6 separate regions of the Homo sapiens genome follow, and all the other regions are linked to region 1. The links are contacts of gene promoters, found by promoter capture Hi-C in human tissues and cell types (Jung and others, 2019). All regions are on one chromosome and are shown on one strand. The core of a region is centred on a gene start or on the middle of the fragment in contact, and the rest is flanking DNA. Distances in the headings are between cores, read along the strand shown. Region 1 holds the start of CUL9 (cullin 9). Region 2 overlaps CNPY3-GNMT (CNPY3-GNMT readthrough). Region 3 has its middle 16 kb from the start of ZNF318. Region 4 has its middle 9.6 kb from the start of RRP36. Region 5 has its middle 24 kb from the start of CRIP3. Region 6 has its middle 6.2 kb from the start of CRIP3.

Region 1 (2,691 bases), core at 108-2,607:
AGGAAGGACAGCAGCATGTGAGGCAGTGGGATCAGAACATGTGAGGAAAAGTAGGATAGCGGAGGGGCAGGACAGGGAGCATAAATGACAGAGTAAAGCTGCAAGGTGGATGTAAAGGGTGGGCCATGGCAGATATAGAGAATGGAGATGACAAAAGGCTGGGATGTTGGGGCAAATGACTGGATAGGAAAAGTATATTCGAGTCTTGTGAAAGGGGGAGGGCCCTAGGGACCAGATAAAATTATGGGAAAGATGACCAGGTCCCACCCTGCCCTTATACTGCATGTATGGTAAGGATTTAAGTAAGTTAAGTAGATAAGATAGAGGTGGTAATCATGGGGTTAAAGGTAGGAAATGAGGTCAGGAGAGAAGCAATATTCAGAGACTTCAGTATCAGATAAATGTGACTCTGAATTCTGGCTTTCTGTCTCACTGTCTGCATAGTTTGGAACAAGTTACTTAACCTCTGAGCTTGTTTCCTCTTCTGCAAGATGGTAGTAATATTCATAGTTACTTCATGAATTTAGTAGGATCATGTATGTAAAGCACTTGGAACAGCATCTAGCACATAAAGAGTGTTCAGTAAACATAATCTGTTATTATTCTTAGATGGAGAAGGTAGGGGAGTCATCAAATAAATGCAAAGTTATTAAGACCGATTATAAATGGGAGTGGAATAATCAGGAAAGATATGCGTGATATGAAGCAGTGCAGGGGCAACAGGGAATAGTGAGAATAAGAATGGAAGAAGGTAAACCCAGATGAAGATATAGTGGTCAGGGCAGGGGTCATGTTGGGGTACAGGGACAGAAGATGAGAGTAGAGGTGAAGAGGAGGGAGAAAGATGGATGTGGACCTCAATGGAGGTAGGGGTCCACTTAGGATGGGGGGCAAGCCTGGATGGTAGCCAGCGATGTGCCAGCGGGCAACTGATTAGCAGCAGGGGGAAGTAAAAGAATCGGATAGGAGGAGGTAGGAGGTGTAACGTCGGCCTAGAAGAGCAACAATAAACTGAGGTGTGGGGGTGAGCTCTGGACGCATGGATGAGACCAGCAGATAGCAAGGTCAAGCCCAAGCTTGCAGAGCCGTGGGGAGGTGGAGGAGGCCAGCACCGCAGAGGGAACGGGTTTGGGGGGAGGGGGAAGGATGGTTGGGGGCGCGGTCCAAAAAAGCTGAAAAGATCCAGTGAATCTCAGAGAGCAAGACCTGGTTCCCTTCGTCAGCCCCATGGACAGTGGCTAAAGGACCGGGGAGGGGACAGGAGAAGGGGAGGGATTGGGTCGGCGCAGAACTCTCCTCTCACCTCCCACCGCCCGGCTCAGCCCTCGCTGGGACCCAGCGGCCGGTCCCGCCGTCCTGGCCCCGCCTCCTCAGAGCTCCCTTCCGGGTCACACGGCGAGTGCACGCACGGCCGGGCACCTACGGGTCCCACCGCGGCCCACGCCGAGCGTGGCGGAACAGCGCGCGAGTGGAGCATGCGTGCTACCGCGGGCGGCTGCACTGGAAGAGGGGCGTGGGGGCGCGCTACCGGAGGAGCCTGGGATCGAGGTCACGTTGCTCCTCTCTCAGCAGCAGGAAGAAGCCGTTTCCATCCAGTCAACTGTGAAGCCCCCTCCTCTTCACTGGGTCGGCCCTCCTAATCCTCCCTCTCCCATCACAGCGATCATGCTGACGAAACATGGTAACCCACATTCCCACCTTAAGGCTGCCCTTTTTGACTTTTCAGTAGGTCAGGTGCCCATGAGTTTCCCAAACCCTTCAGCAATGCTTTGGATTAGTTGTGTCACTTTTCCTGTTAATTAAAATTTGCTCCTCTGCGTTGGCCTTAACACCTAGCGAAGCCACGCACAGGGAGAAGGTCCTCGGCCCCGCAAAACTTTCCTTAAATTAAATCGTATAGAATTAAACAGCCCAAAGCACACCTTAGCATTACCGTTCTCATCAAGCAGCCCGGATCGCTACTCAGAGCAGCAATTTTAGGAGTTTGCCTCGCGTTCATACCCCCATCCCTCCCTAAGTAGAAAAACAGAACCAAAGACCCCACAGTCTGTGCACAAAAATGATACATTTATTGAAAGAGTATTTTTTTTTAATACAAAAGAAAGCTCTGTACATAGGACTGTGACCATGTCCACTATTCCTGGGTCAGCATCCCAGGGGAAGTAGAAACCACTGACATACACACTCACATTCAAGCACACACACTCACTCAGGCGCACACACCCACACACACATACCCCAGAGCCACCGAGGAAGGGAAACACCAAGGGTCGCTGCACATAAAAATATCACCTCAACTCATCCCTGACACACGCATGTCCTCCCAAGGCCACGCTCACACAACACACATTATAAGCACTTTGCCTGATTCACTCACTGGGTCTGTCTTTTGTGGGAAGGAGAGGAAGAATTCATCAAAGGTCTCCTCCCCATGGGTGGGGGAGTGGGGAGTGAGTGAGTGATGGTGGAGTGAAACAAGAGCAGAGAAAAGGGGCTGGGCAGTTACAGACCTGAGTCCCAAGCTCCCCTGCTCTCTGGCCCCTGATTTGCCATGCCCCAGCCTTGAAAGCCACCCATAAGCCCCAGCTATCTCCAGGAGAAAGCCCAGAAAGGTGACTTCCATCTTGGCACCCCAAACTGGGGCAAGACAGCAATGAGGGTTAGAGGTTAGGGGGTTCTCAAACATGTCGG
Region 2 (2,691 bases), core at 78-2,577, 230 kb after region 1:
CACTGAACAAAGGAGACAGGGTCATTTATAACCTGACGCGTCCACCCTACTGCTGTGTCCGGTTTCCATTGGCTGGAATGGGACTTCACATTTTGTATTTGTCCCGATTGGCTAGCAACTTAGAACTTTTAAAAGAGGCAAAGGCAGAGGAGAACAAAGGAAGGGGAAGTAACTTGTGGAATGCTGAGAAAGGTAAAAACACCTTCAAATAAGGATGAGGAACAGGCTATGACCTAATGTTTGTTTGGACCAGTATAAGCATGCCAGGGCAAATATTTAGGCTACATTGTGGGAGCTAAGAACATAAAGGACATTGATTTCTTTATTATGACTTGCAGATATTTAAGAATGTCACCACAGATCTTTGAATAAATTTTGCTTCTAAGAGAAGTTACTATTTATCCCTAATTAGATGGGGAGGAAAGTCTTTGAAGAGGAACCTCTACTTTTTATAATAGCGATTCTCCTACCTCAGCCTCCCAAGTATACAGGTGCTCGCCACCACATCAGGCTAATTTTTATATTTTTAGTAGAGACGGGGTTTCACCATGTTGGACAAGCTGCTTTCTAACTCCTGATCTCAGGTGATCCGCCCGCCTCAGCCTCCCAAAGTGCTGGGATCACAGGCGTGAGCCACTGCGCCTGACCGAGGATGGCATCTTTGATGTAAATAAGCTTTTCCCAAATTCACAGATTAAGACTTCTACTGTCATAAAACTCTTATCTTTCAATATTTGTTCTTGCTTATGCCTCTATGAACAATAAAAGTGGAAAAGGCATCTGTTATGTGCACTAATGGGATGTACTTTTATTTGTGAAGGAGTTTGCAGCCAACCTTATATATGGATAACTTTATACTTTAATAGATAAAAAATGAAGGCCCAGTGCAGGTAAAAAACTTTAATGGGGCCAGGCACGGTGGCTTATGCCTGTAATCCCAGCACTTTGGGAGGCCGAGGCAGGTGGATCACCTGAAGTCAGGAGGTTGAGACCAGTCTAGCCAATGTGGTGAAACCCCATCTCTACTAAAAAAATATATATATATATATACATAAAAATTAGCTGGGCATGGTGGTGCACCTGTAATCCCAGCTACTCGGGAGGCTGAGGCATGAGAATCGCTTGAACCCGGGAGGCAGAGGTTGCAGTGAGCCAAGATGGTGCCATTGCACTCTAGCCTGGGCAACAAAAGCGAAACTTCGTCTCAAAAAAAAAAAAGTATCCCTCATGATGGGTTCTATAGCAAATTCTACTGTAAAGGCTACAGTTATACAATAGACTTTAAATTCTCTTGTGAAAGTTAAGATAGAATTGGCTAAACAGAGAAGTATCTGTGCAGCTGCTGGCACTTGTGGCCTACGGAGAAATACATCACATGAAGATTATAGAAATATAGTGGTAGGGGATTAACAAAGAGACTGCTTAGTCAAATGAGTAAACTTTTTTTTTTTTTTGAGACGGAGTTTTGCTCTTGTTGCCCAGGCTGGAGTGCAATGGCACGATCTCGGCTCACCGCAACCTCTGCCTCCCGGGTTCAAGCGATTCTCCTGCCTCAGCCTCCCGAGTAGCTGGGACTACAGGCATGCACCACCATGCCTGGCTAATTTTGTGTTTTTAGTAGAGACGGGGTTTCACCATGTTGGTCAGGCTGGTCTTGAACTCCCGACCTCAGGTGATCTGCCCATCTCGGCCTCCCAAAGTGCTGGGATTACAGACATGAGCCACCACGCCCGGCCATGAGTAAACTCTTTATCTAGTTCATTCTTTGATCTATGTGATTTTAGGTGGTTTGGTTTATGGGGAACCTGGGTAAGGAGCATACTCCAAACTCTTGGTATCATCCTCCCGATAGTCATAATAATAGTCTCCCTGGTGCGCTCTATTCTCTCAAAGGTTTTAAATGCTTGCGTGCAGCCATCTCTAGAATGTCAAATGGTCTCTCTTCAACTGGAATAACAGGAGCTAAAAAAATGTGCAACCATAAGGACACTATAAGCTATAAATGATGTGCTGAGATAGGAAACCCAAAATGATGGTAACTGAGAGTGGCGCTAAGTCCCTAAGGTTTGGTCACACTCTCACTTAAATGACAGCCTAACCAAAAAGGGTAATTTTTTAAACAAAATTATGGAAGGCCATTGTTTTGGACTAGGCTCATGCACTAGGCCTCAACAAACCAAACCAAAATGGAGTCGCTCATGCTAGGACTTTAAGGAAACACATAGATTCTAAAACAGACCAAGTTTTTTTTCTCCTGCAAATCTCTATGACAAACCTTTCTTTTTTTTTTTTTCTGAGACGGAGTCTCACTCCCTCGCCCCCAGACTGGAGTGCAGTGGCTCAATCTCAGCTTATTGCAACCTCCACCTCCCAGGTTCAAGCAACATTCCTGCCTCAGCCTCCTGAGTAGCTAGGATTACAGGCATGCACCACCCCGCCCGGCTAATTTTTTTGTATTTAGTAGAGACAGGGTTTCACTATGTTGGCCAGGCTGATCCTGAACTCCTGACCTCGTGATCTGCCTGCCTCGGCCTCCCAAAGTGCTGGGATTACAGACGTAAGCCACTGCGCCTGGTCAATATAACAAACATTTCTAACAGCATAGGTATCCACCCCCTGCAGTTCCCATTAAATGTTTTAACCAAATTCATTTCCTCTTGCCTAGAGACCATCAAGCTTCAGCTGATCATG
Region 3 (2,691 bases), core at 100-2,599, 200 kb before region 1:
TCATTTAAACTGCTGCCAAAGAACAAGAATAACTGTGAAAGAAGCTCCCTCTAGAGGTGAGAAAGTATGAGAATTATTTACATTTATAATAGTAATGAGGTTACAAAACTATACGATCACATCTGCTAAGAAAACACAGTTTTCTATGTCAGGATTTGTTGGAGGATTTTTGTGTGCTTGTGAAAGCTGGATCCAGGGGACATGTAAACAACTTTGGCTGGCAGTTTGGCCCTATGATTAATGGATACCAAATACACAAATACAGAATTGAATCTAAGAAAACACAGAACAGTACTACATCTACTAGAAAGGCTTACATTAAAAAGAAAACCTGACAATACCAATATTTGGCAAGAATCTGGAGCAGGTATAGTGCTTATACACTGCCAGTGTATGAAGTTCAAGAATCAGAAAAACTGATCAAGGATATTAGAAGTCAGAAGAATGGTTACATCTATTTTGAGAGAGTGTTAGTGAAAAGAAAGGGATGCCACACATGGTGGCTCACAGTCATAATCCCAGCATTTCGGGAGGCTGAGGTGGGAGGATCACTTGAGCCCAGGAGTTTGAGACCAGCCTGGGCAACACAGAATACCCCATCTCTCTCTCTCTCTCTCTCTCTCTTTTTTCTGAGATAGAGTCTTGCTCTGTCACCCAGGCTGGAGTGCAGTGGTTTGATCTCAGTTCACTGCAACCTCCACCTCTTGGGTTCAAGCAATTTTCCTGCCTCAGCCTCCCAAAATGCTGGGATTACAGGTGCCTGCCACCACACCCAGCTAATTTTTGTATTTTCAGTACAGACGGGGTTTCACCATATTGGCCAGGCTGGTCTTGAACTCCTGACCTCAGGTGATCCACCTGCCTCGGCCTCCCAAAGTGCTGGGATTACAGGTATGAGCAACTGCACCCGGCCCCTATCTCTTAAAAAATGAAAAGAAAGAGAAAGAGAGAGAGAGAGAGAAAAGTACGAAATACAAACAAGACATTGATGAAGGCAAGAAGGTAAAATAAATAAATAAACAAATAAATGCAATTGAAAAGGAAGACATTAATCCAGTGAAGTATTTTTCTTTGGCTTAATAGCAGAAAACAACAGATATAACACACATCAATCTACACTGTCTCATGGTTACATGAACTTTCTGACTCTGCTACAAGTTAGCACATAGGGATCCTGACCCATCTTACCATCTCACAAGATATGCTGGCCCACTGAACTCATGACATCAAACTAATAGGGCATATGGAGTAAAAAATAGCAAGTATCTTACACGCTTTAGGAAATATATGTATACCGGAAGGTAGGGAGGTTCAAGTACAAAGGCTTTTCACTTCACTGATATTTCTTGATGTTTAGTGATCTTGCATACAGGTGCTCCCTTCAAAATGAAGGACAAGTTGCTTTACTTGTGCTACCTACCCCTAAACCAAAAGAGTCACATCACTTAGGTGAATTTAGAGACAACATTGATCATATTTGGGTTACTGCTCTGACCTCCTTATCTGGTCACTTGAAATGAAGCCATACTTGAGTGAGATTCAGAGGAAGAAAAGGTTCTCCAGCTGGTCCAGTCTGCAGTGCAACTTAGTCCTTGCGATCCTTATAATGTTCAAAGTGTTTGTGGCAGACTGAGGTACTTTATCATCTATGGCATGTCCTGATAGAATAATCATAGCAGAGGCCCTCTGAGCATGCCTTTTGGCAGGTAAATATTCTCTCTTTGAGAATCAGCTCTCAGCTTGCTGCTGGGCCACGGACACAGCATGATCATGGAACCCAGCATGATCACAGCATAATCATGAACTGGCTATCATCTGGTCTTCCTAGGTATAAAGCTGGTTCATACCTAGGACATGGATCCATTATCAAGTAGAAATGACATACACAAAATGAGGCCACAGCAGATCCTGAAAACACAAATGGCTCCTAGCACCCACACCACTACTTCTGCTGCATTGCTATTTCATCTACCACTATAACCAATGAAATGGGCCTTGTTACCAGACTGCAGTGGAATAAAGTCATGATTAGTTTGTAGCTGTCTTCACCTAATGTGCTGGCATTAGAAAGAAATGGGCTGCTGTGATACTGTGGCCCCCAATCAAGGGTGACCCTGAAGGACACTGAGGATAGTCAGGACTTCAAGAAATACAACTACCTGACCAGTTTTCCCAGAAGGAGAAACAGGTTAAGAGTCTACACTGATTTGGCCGGGCCCGGTGGCTCATGCCTGTAATCCCAGCACTTTGGGAGGCCGAGGCAGGTGGATCACGAGGTCAGGAGATCGAGATCATCCTGCCTAGCATGGTGAAACCCCGTCTCTACTAAAAAATACAAAAAAAACCCCAAAAAAATTAGCCAGGCATGGCGGCACGCACCTGTAGTTCCAGCTGCGTGAACCTGGGAGGCAGAGCTTGCAGGGAGCTGAGATCGCGCCACTGCACTCCGGCCTGGGTGACAGAGCGAGACTCCATCTCAAAAAAAAAAAAAAAAAAAAAGAGTCTGAGGTTAATGGTTTGGCTAGATGATTAGGGAGTTAGAAGTGATATTAAAATGAAGTTGGAGAAGTATAATGTGGAAGAACTTCTTAAAATGGTTCCCAAATGTGACAGTATCTGTCATGATTCAGTTGCAGACCACAGATACCACTCTACTTAATTTAAGGGAGAAGGGCGTTATTACCAGGGATC
Region 4 (2,691 bases), core at 90-2,589, 150 kb after region 1:
TATGATTTATCTAGCCTTAAAAAAAAAACAAAAAAAACAAAAAAAAAACTAGGCCAGGTGCGGTGGCTCACACCTGTAAACCTATCACTTTGGGAGGCCTAGGTGGGTGGATTACTTGAGGTCAGGAGTTTGAGACCAGCTGGCCAACACGGTGAAACCCCATCCCTACAAAAAAAAAAATTAGCCAGGTGTGGTGGCATACACCTGAAATACCAGCTGCTCAGGGAGCTGAGGCAGAAGAATAGCTTTAACCTGGGAGGAAGAGGTTACAGTGAGCCAAGATCGTGCCACTGCACTCCAGCTTGGGCGACAGAGGGAGACCCCATCTCAAAAAAAATTCTAGAAAATGCCCAGCCTCTTTGAAATATTCTTTCCTGAAATTTTGATTGTCAAGTCTCACATTTATCTTCATTTTGTTGTTTTATAGACAGGATCTTGCTCTGTCACCCAGGCTGGAGTGCAGTGATGCCATCATAGCTCACTGCAACCTCAAGTTCCTGGGGTCAAGCAATCCTCCAGCCTGAGCCTCCAGAGAAGCTGGGACTATAGGCATGTGCCACATGTCTGATTTTTTAATTTTTTTTTAGAGACAAGGTCTCCTTATGTTGCCCAGGCTGGTCCCCAACTGAGGACCTCAAGCAGTCCTCTCTATGCCTCCCAAAAAGTTGGGATTACAGGTGTCAGCAACTACACCCAGCCTCTTCCATGTTTTTTAACCTCTTTTCCTTAGTTTCCACTTCTCTGTATGTCAGTGCTCTCTCTGTGTAACTTCAGATCTATTTCCAGTTCATTCTCCCTTTAGGGAGAAGTCTAATCTGCTGCTTAACCATAAAGTTTCTAACTTCTCGTAGTGTACTTTTTTTTTTCTGAGGTGGAGTATCACTCTTGTTGCCCAGGCTGGAGTGCAGTGGCGCAATCTTGGCTCACCGCAACCTCCGCCTCCTAGGTTCAAGCAATTCTCCTGCCTCAGCCTCCCAAGTAGCTAGGATTACAGGCATGCGCCACCACGCCCGGCTAATTTTTTGTATTTTTAGTAGAGACGGGGTTTCACCATGTTGGCCAGGCTAGTCTCGAACTCCCAACCTCAGGCGATCCACCCACCTCAGCCTCCCAAAGTGCTGGGATTACAGGCACGAGCCACCATGCCTGGCCCTACTTTTCATTTTTAAAAGGTTTTCTTTTTAAGTTTTACTTTTTTTTTTTTTTTTTTTGAGATGGAGTCTCGCTCTGTTCCCCAGGCTGGAGTGCAGTGGCACGATCTCGGCTCACTGCAAGCTCTGCCTCCCAGGTTCATGCCATCCTCCTGCCTCAGCCTCCAGAGTAGCTGGGACTACAGGCACCCGCCACCACGCCTGGCTAATTTTTTGTATTTTTAGTAGAGATAGGGTTTCACTGTACTAGCCAGGATGGTCTCCATCTCCTGACCTCGTGATCCACCCGCTTTGGCCTCCCAAAGTGCTGGGAACACAGGCGTGAGCCACCGTGACCGGCCTTAAGTTTTACTTTTTAATCACACCAGTTTAGTACCTTTTGATATTCATTTGTCACACTTTTTCTTTAAACATAAGACATTTTGTATTTTTTATTTTATACTTCTCACATTTTAATTTTTGCCAGTCTGGACGACAGAGTGAGACTCCATCTCAAAAACAAAAAACAAACAAAAAAAAAACAATCCTCAAGAAAGGATTACATTTGCTTCTGCCAGGACCCTGGAGACACTATCTACTTGAGACTTTTTTTTTTTTTGAGACGGAGTCTCGCTCTGTCGCCCAGGCTGGAGTGCAGTGGCGCGATCTTGGTTCACTGCAACCTCCGCCTCCCGCGTTCAAGCAATTCTCCTGCTTCAGCCTCCTGAGTAGCTGGGATTACAGGCGCCCACCACCACACCCGGCTAATTTTTGTATTTTTAGTAGAGACAGGGTTTCACCATGTTGGTCAGGCTGGTCTCGAACCCCTGACCTCGTGATCCACCTGCCTCTGCCTCCCAAAGTGCTGGGATTACAGGTGTGAGCCACCATGCCTGGCCATTTTTTTTTGGGGGGGGGGGCGCGGTGGTGATTTCACTCTTTTTGCCCAGGCTGGAGTGCAGTGGTGCGATCTTGGCTCACTGCAACCTCTACCTCCCAGGCTCAAGTGATTATCCTACCTCAGCCTCCTGAGTAGCTGGGATTACAGGCACCCACCACCACACCCAGCTAATTTTGTATTTTTAGTAGAGATGGGGTTTCACCATGTTGGCCAGGCTGGTCTTGAACTCCTGACCTCAGGTGATCCGCCTGCCTCGGCCTCCCAAAGTGGTGGGATTACAGGTGTGAGCCACCACGCCCAGCCTACTTGAGACTATTTTAAACTAAGTTATCAGCCTGAGGATTTTCCAGACCACATGGGTTATAAACTCTTGTCCCAAACAGTACTGAAGGCCAGCTGTGCTTGTATATTACCATGGAAGCTTTATATCCCTACCTCTTAACATCCCTTGCATCCAAAACCAAAGCCAAGTAGGGGAGTTGTGGGATTGGTTCACCCACTAAATGATCTTGTCATCCTTGAGGGGCCCAGATTTAAGTGGGAGGGGTTTCTGATCTGACTTCCCAGTTGTAGATGCCTTAGGCTTTATTGCCTATCCCAATATGTGGCCCACTAAAAAGTAGTTCTAGGCTACCCACAAATCCCACATAAAAGCAGAGG
Region 5 (2,691 bases), core at 60-2,559, 150 kb before region 1:
ATTCCAGGACTGAGGAAGAATGGGGTGGGGAGGTGGACATACAGGACACATGCATCCAATAGGAACATAAAGTGTAATTTTAAAAATTGGAGGAGGGTTCAGAGAGGATGTAGCCTGTAACAGAAATAAGTGAGGTAGTTTCTTTTACATATATATATATGTATATATGTATATAGTTTTATATATACTATATATAGTATAGTTTCTTTTATATATATAATATAGATAATATATATATAAACATATATAGGCAAGCTTTGTTGATATATTAATATATATCCCTAAACCTTGGTTCTCACCTTAACAAAGCTTACATACTAAATCTAGGATAAGAACCTAAACAAAGTCTTCATTTATTAACGATTTATGTGAGAACATGGACAAATAGTTTTGTGAGCACATCTCTTTAGAGTTTAAAATTGCAGTAATTTTTATGTAATTTTTAACTAAGTTGTGTATACAATATTCATCGATAAGCCACGAAGTTGAATTTATAATGAAAATCTTCTACTCTTAAAATCACAACTCTCCTGATTTGCCCTCAACCCATATACACTTCCAGAAGAATACATATAAAACATGTATGTTTATGTTGTAGCATTTAATGTGGTTGTAATTTTACATTTATGTTTCTTTGATTAATATATGCTCCCCTTAAGTACATGATAAACTCCCCAAAGCAAGAAGTCTGTCTTTGCTTACTATTTTTTTAATCATTGTATTCACAGTGCACAGTTGTCTGGCATATAGCAGGTACTCAATAAAAATTCATTGAAAGAATCAATGTGGTAATAGTAGCTGTTTTTATTAACAAATTGTGAATACTTAGCAAATTATAAGTCAGTAAAAACTGTAAATTGCCTATTGTATTTTCTGGGTGTTTAGCACTCTAGAAGCCAGCTGTCCTCTTGCTTCTGTCCTGGGTCTTTGTATACAAAGCACTGTATCATTGAGGCATGTCAAGGTTGCCATTGGTTCCCTCACTTCAACAGCATTCTGGAATAATGGCACCAGGCCATGATGGGAACACTGCTTCTGCAGCTCCTAGAAGAGAAACTGAGGATGAGAAGGAGTTAAACTGACCTTACAGTTAGCAAAAACAAAAGGTTTTGGGGATCCAGTTTTCAAATGGCCTCCTTTTTCCTTCCAGCCAGACTTCATAAGCATGCTGAAGTCAGTCAAACCCCAAACCCCTCTGATTTGGTTGAAGAAGTAATTCAACAGTTTATGGTCTCCAGCATCCTCTTGTCATCTCATCAAAACTAAATCGTAACCAAAAAAGGTTGCCTTTGGGAGAGGGAAAAGGAATGCTATCACTTTTTATTTTGTATCTTCTGTTTTGTTTCAACATTGTGACCATGAAAATGCATTTTCTATAAAATATAAATGTTTTATAAACTATACACATGCACACACATACATGTATAAAATGATAACATGTAGTAAGGGTTATCCAGTGCTGTGGAATTATAGGCCAGTTTTTTTTTTACCCCTCTGTATACTTTTCTGTATTAAAATTATTTTTTTTAAGTTGTGTCTCTCCTACTCAGTGCATCCCTGTTTTCCTTCACACCTCTTGTCTGTTTTCCATCATTACAAATAGGTCCTGCTGCTTTTCCCTCAAGACTTCCTAAATTCTTCTATTCCCATCGATGCTGGGCAACATACCTTCTTCAGGAATGTCTTACCATTCTTTCCTTCTTCCTCTCTTCCTCTTCCCATTCTTTCCCCAACCTCTGTTGAACTGGTTGTTCATATTCATTAATGTTGTACAAGCACTTGGACATTAAATGATATAAATCAAGATACCTGTTTCACAAAGTAATACAGGTACACAAAAGATAAAAAAAGTCTGTCGCATGCAAAAGGACAGAAGATAACATCTAGATGTAATGATTTAAAGATTTACAGGCTTTGGTTCCATTTGTGGAGGATTAGGCAAGAAAGAAGTTTTGTAGAAAATAAGGGAAATGAGTATGTTTAAGGGAAGTGAACGAACAGGGTGAAAACAGAGGCAGAGTTACATAACGGGAGAACAAAAGGTAGAGGATGTGGAGAAAGCAGAGATAAAATCAGCCATATTAAGATATTATTTTATTTCGTCTCTCTGACACTCTGTCCCTGCTAAGTTTCCACCCAGCCTTCCTGTAACCACCTTCCTAAGGATGACTATGGTCACATTGTTACAGACTCTCACCCACTTATCTTCCTTTCTTTTCAGGGGCAATTCCAAAAGTCTTCAGATTTCCAAAAGGAAGGACTGCAGCAGACATTTCTGCCCCCAGAAAGGCAGGGATAGAAACCACAGAGGCCACGGAAATGATGGGTGCCCTTGTGGCCAGTAGGCAATCACCTGAAGGATCTGACTTCCAGAAGGTGGGTATGACTGATGGGGGTGGGGATAAGTTGTAGAGAAGATCCTGTCATTTTAGCTGCCAGGAAATGGTGAGTTGGGTGAGTGAATGTGTATATTGTTGTACCTGTAGAGGATGAACAAGATTAGAATGTACATAGAGGGTATGTATTTTAGACTTGCCACTCCTCACCTTATTTAGCATTGAATAAATTATTCCTGAAGTCCCATATCTCATTTTGTGCCATGATACTTACATTAAAGCTGTAGAGTTCAGGTCTTCATATTCTTCCTGGGCCCTAGTCTCCAATGTGCCCCTAAGTAGAACATCTCTTATC
Region 6 (2,691 bases), core at 104-2,603, 130 kb before region 1:
CTGAACTTCCTTCACTCCAGGACACTCGTTGTTACCAACTCTCAACCTCTACCAGTCCCCTCTTATTCCCACATCTCTCACTAGCACTCATCTATCACACTCAGGGGGACTTGTATATAACATGTAACATTCATTCACCAGCAAGTATTTGTTGAGCACTATGTGCCAGAGATTTGAGCAAGGCACTGGAAATATATGCAATGGTTGGCAAAGCAGCCTGGTCCCTGCTCTCATGGATCTCACAGACTAAGGGGGCAGACAAAGCCCAGATTGGAGTGGAGGAGGTAGGCAGGAAGTTACCATATTTATTTCACTTTCTAAACTACAACCTGTCCTTTATCAATAATAAAGATGATGGGCTGGGTGGTGGCTCATGTCTGTAATCCCAGCACTTTGAGAGGCCAAGGTGAGTGGATCACTTGAAGTCAAAAGTCCAAGACCAGCCTGGCCAACATGGTGAAACCTTGTCTCTACTAAAAATACAAAAATTAGCCGGGCATGGTGGCACACTCCTGTAATCCCAGCTACTAGGGAGGCTGGGGCAGGAGAATTACTTGAACCTGGGAGGCAGAGATTGCAGTGAGCTGAGATCATGCCACTGCACTCCAGCCTGGGCAACAGAATGAGACTGTCTCAAAATAGTAATAATAATAATAATAAAGGATCTCTGTTTGTCTTTTATTTCTTATTTGGTTCAGCACTCAGGGAAAACACAGCTGTCATAGTTTGGGCCCCCTCTACCCTCCAGGAGAGGATGGTGGTATAGAAACAGTGCTTGGGGTCAATAACCTGGTGTGGAGTAGTTGAGGGGGAGCTGAGGTTAGGTAGGAATTGATGAGGTGAAGATACTGGGGAAGTGAATTCTCAGAAAAGATGGCCTTTGCAAAAGCCCTGAGGCAGAATAGAACTTAACAGATTCAAGAAGCTCATTTGATGTGGATGGAGGGGTCGATGCAACAGGAGAAATGGCTAGAAGACTGGAAAAGTGGAGGGTCCTGTCTTGAGGATACTGAGAAATCATGGAAAGGTTTTAATGACATTTCCCTGCCCCTTGCATCTCAACCCATTATTTTCCTGGATAGGCCCTCTTATCTTCAGGTATGGAGGTGCTGTGCAGACAAGTGTAGTGTCTTTTCAGGTTGAAACACATGGGCAAAAACCATGCTTAGGGGGGTATAGAGTGGAAAGAGTATGGGCTCAAGAGTCAGAATGCTTGGGTCTGTATGATGTTTTACACATTTCTTTTTTTCTTTTTCTTTGAGACTGAGTCTTGCTCTGTCGTCCAGGCTGGACTGCAGTGGTGCGATCTCGGCTCACTGCAACCTCCACCTCCCAGGTTCAAGCAATTCTCATGCCTCAGCCTCCTGAGTAGCTGGGATTACAGGCACCTGCCACCACGCCCAGCTAAGTTTTTTGTATTTTAAGTAGAGACGGGGTTTCACCATGGTGGACAGTCTGGTCTCGAACTCCTAACCTCAGGTGATCCTCCCACTTCGGCCTCCCAAAGTGCTGGGATTACAGGCATGAGCCACCGCACCTGGCCAAATGTTTTACTAATTTCGTAACCTTACCAAGCCACTTTCTTTTTTATACAATTGGGAATGTAACATTTCTACCCTTCATCAGCTCTAGTAATGCCCTCTTTCTAACACAAGTTTCAAGCTCCTTTTTGGGAAAGGAATCACAGAATCATAATTGTTAAATCATGAAGAGGCTTTAAAGTTCTATCTGCATATGATATTTGGATACCTTCTGCAACACTGAGGATCAGTTGGTTTATTGTCCAGTATTGTGTCCAGAAACAGGAAGCTCACCACTGTCTGAAGCAGCCACTCTATATTGGGGCTCTATTAAAAGGGTTTTGGAGGGGACCTAATCCAAATCTGCTTCCCTGTGTTCTCTCTCCAGGGGTCTTGGTAGTACCCCTAATGCCTTTTCCATGTGACAGCCCTCCAGGGACTAGAAGTCACTATCTCTACGGGACCACTTACTCACCTAGAATGGAAAAGCTTGTTTCTTCAGCTTTTCTAACAACACTAATCAAACGGTTAATTCCTCGAGCAAACACAATCCTGAAACATTTATGTACCTAATAATAGAGCTTAAAAACATGAAGTAAAGTTAGTGGGAGAGTTTAATAATAATAGCTATCATTTACTGATTACCTATACTGCACTCACTGTTAAAGATACACAGATAATTCTCCATCAGTTCTGTCAAAGTCAAACAAGTAAACAAGTGTCATACAATGTTACAGATACTGTAACAGAGGTCTGTGCAGGAAAAAGGCAGGGCGGGCACTAAGGGAACAGTGGTCTTTGTGAGAAAGAGGCCTGCCTCTAATGGGAGATGACACAAACTGCACCTTAACAATTGAGTAATACCTTCTTTGAGGTGGACTTACCCATCTGTAGTATTTATTAAAATATCATTTTAGAGACTTTAGTCACACCAACTGTTCTTCAAAACATCCACTGTCAGTAACTCAAATGCATTCCTACAAGAAATGTGTTTTCCCAGTTATTCTTTACATAGCTTCTGTTCGAGTCAATAATGGAAACCAGGCAAAGAAGAAAAGTGGACTACTGTAATTTGCTGTACCTGCAAATGCATAGTGCAAGTGTTTGGAAGGGTGGAGCCTCAACTAGTCTTTCCTAAGCACTGAAATAGAAGAGCCGAAGCATATTGTGA

What was found. The method cuts DNA at HindIII sites, captures the fragments that hold promoters and counts their contacts. A contact is called where the count stands out against the background at its distance.
Region 2: a contact is called between a fragment that was not itself captured here and the fragment with the promoter of CUL9 in region 1, in 4 of the 25 tissues and cell types used here (dorsolateral prefrontal cortex, mesenchymal stem cells, mesendoderm cells and 1 more).
Region 3: a fragment that was not itself captured here is called in contact with the fragment with the promoter of CUL9 in region 1 in 1 of the 25 tissues and cell types used here (spleen).
Region 4: a fragment that was not itself captured here is called in contact with the fragment with the promoter of CUL9 in region 1 in 5 of the 25 tissues and cell types used here (aorta, dorsolateral prefrontal cortex, lymphoblastoid cells and 2 more).
Region 5: a fragment that was not itself captured here is called in contact with the fragment with the promoter of CUL9 in region 1 in 1 of the 25 tissues and cell types used here (H1 embryonic stem cells).
Region 6: a contact is called between a fragment that was not itself captured here and the fragment with the promoter of CUL9 in region 1, in 5 of the 25 tissues and cell types used here (H1 embryonic stem cells, IMR-90 fibroblasts, lymphoblastoid cells and 2 more).

What each region holds. Positions count from the first base shown.
Region 1 is chr6:43,180,862-43,183,552 of GRCh38, reverse strand. CUL9 (cullin 9) reads right to left here and starts at 1,357. Exons shown (of 41, transcript NM_015089.4): 1 at 1,304-1,357. SRF (serum response factor) reads right to left here. Exons shown (of 7, transcript NM_003131.4): 7 at 2,047-2,691. RefSeq lists silencers at 1,157-1,206, 1,227-1,366 and an enhancer at 1,617-1,686. The HindIII fragment of the contact is 4,480 bases long and covers 12-2,691 here.
Region 2 is chr6:42,952,096-42,954,786 of GRCh38, reverse strand. The region is part of intron 1 of CNPY3-GNMT (CNPY3-GNMT readthrough); the gene reads right to left. Among named protein-coding and RNA genes, the nearest start is that of GNMT, 7.3 kb to the left of the region's middle. The HindIII fragment of the contact is 5,528 bases long and covers 1-2,691 here.
Region 3 is chr6:43,384,054-43,386,744 of GRCh38, reverse strand. No RefSeq gene overlaps it. Among named protein-coding and RNA genes, the nearest start is that of ZNF318, 16 kb to the right of the region's middle. The HindIII fragment of the contact is 5,313 bases long and covers 1-2,691 here.
Region 4 is chr6:43,029,926-43,032,616 of GRCh38, reverse strand. No RefSeq gene overlaps it. Among named protein-coding and RNA genes, the nearest start is that of RRP36, 9.6 kb to the right of the region's middle. The HindIII fragment of the contact is 7,304 bases long and covers 1-2,691 here.
Region 5 is chr6:43,331,383-43,334,073 of GRCh38, reverse strand. No RefSeq gene overlaps it. Among named protein-coding and RNA genes, the nearest start is that of CRIP3, 24 kb to the right of the region's middle. The HindIII fragment of the contact is 3,101 bases long and covers 1-2,691 here.
Region 6 is chr6:43,313,644-43,316,334 of GRCh38, reverse strand. No RefSeq gene overlaps it. Among named protein-coding and RNA genes, the nearest start is that of CRIP3, 6.2 kb to the right of the region's middle. The HindIII fragment of the contact is 4,386 bases long and covers 1-2,691 here.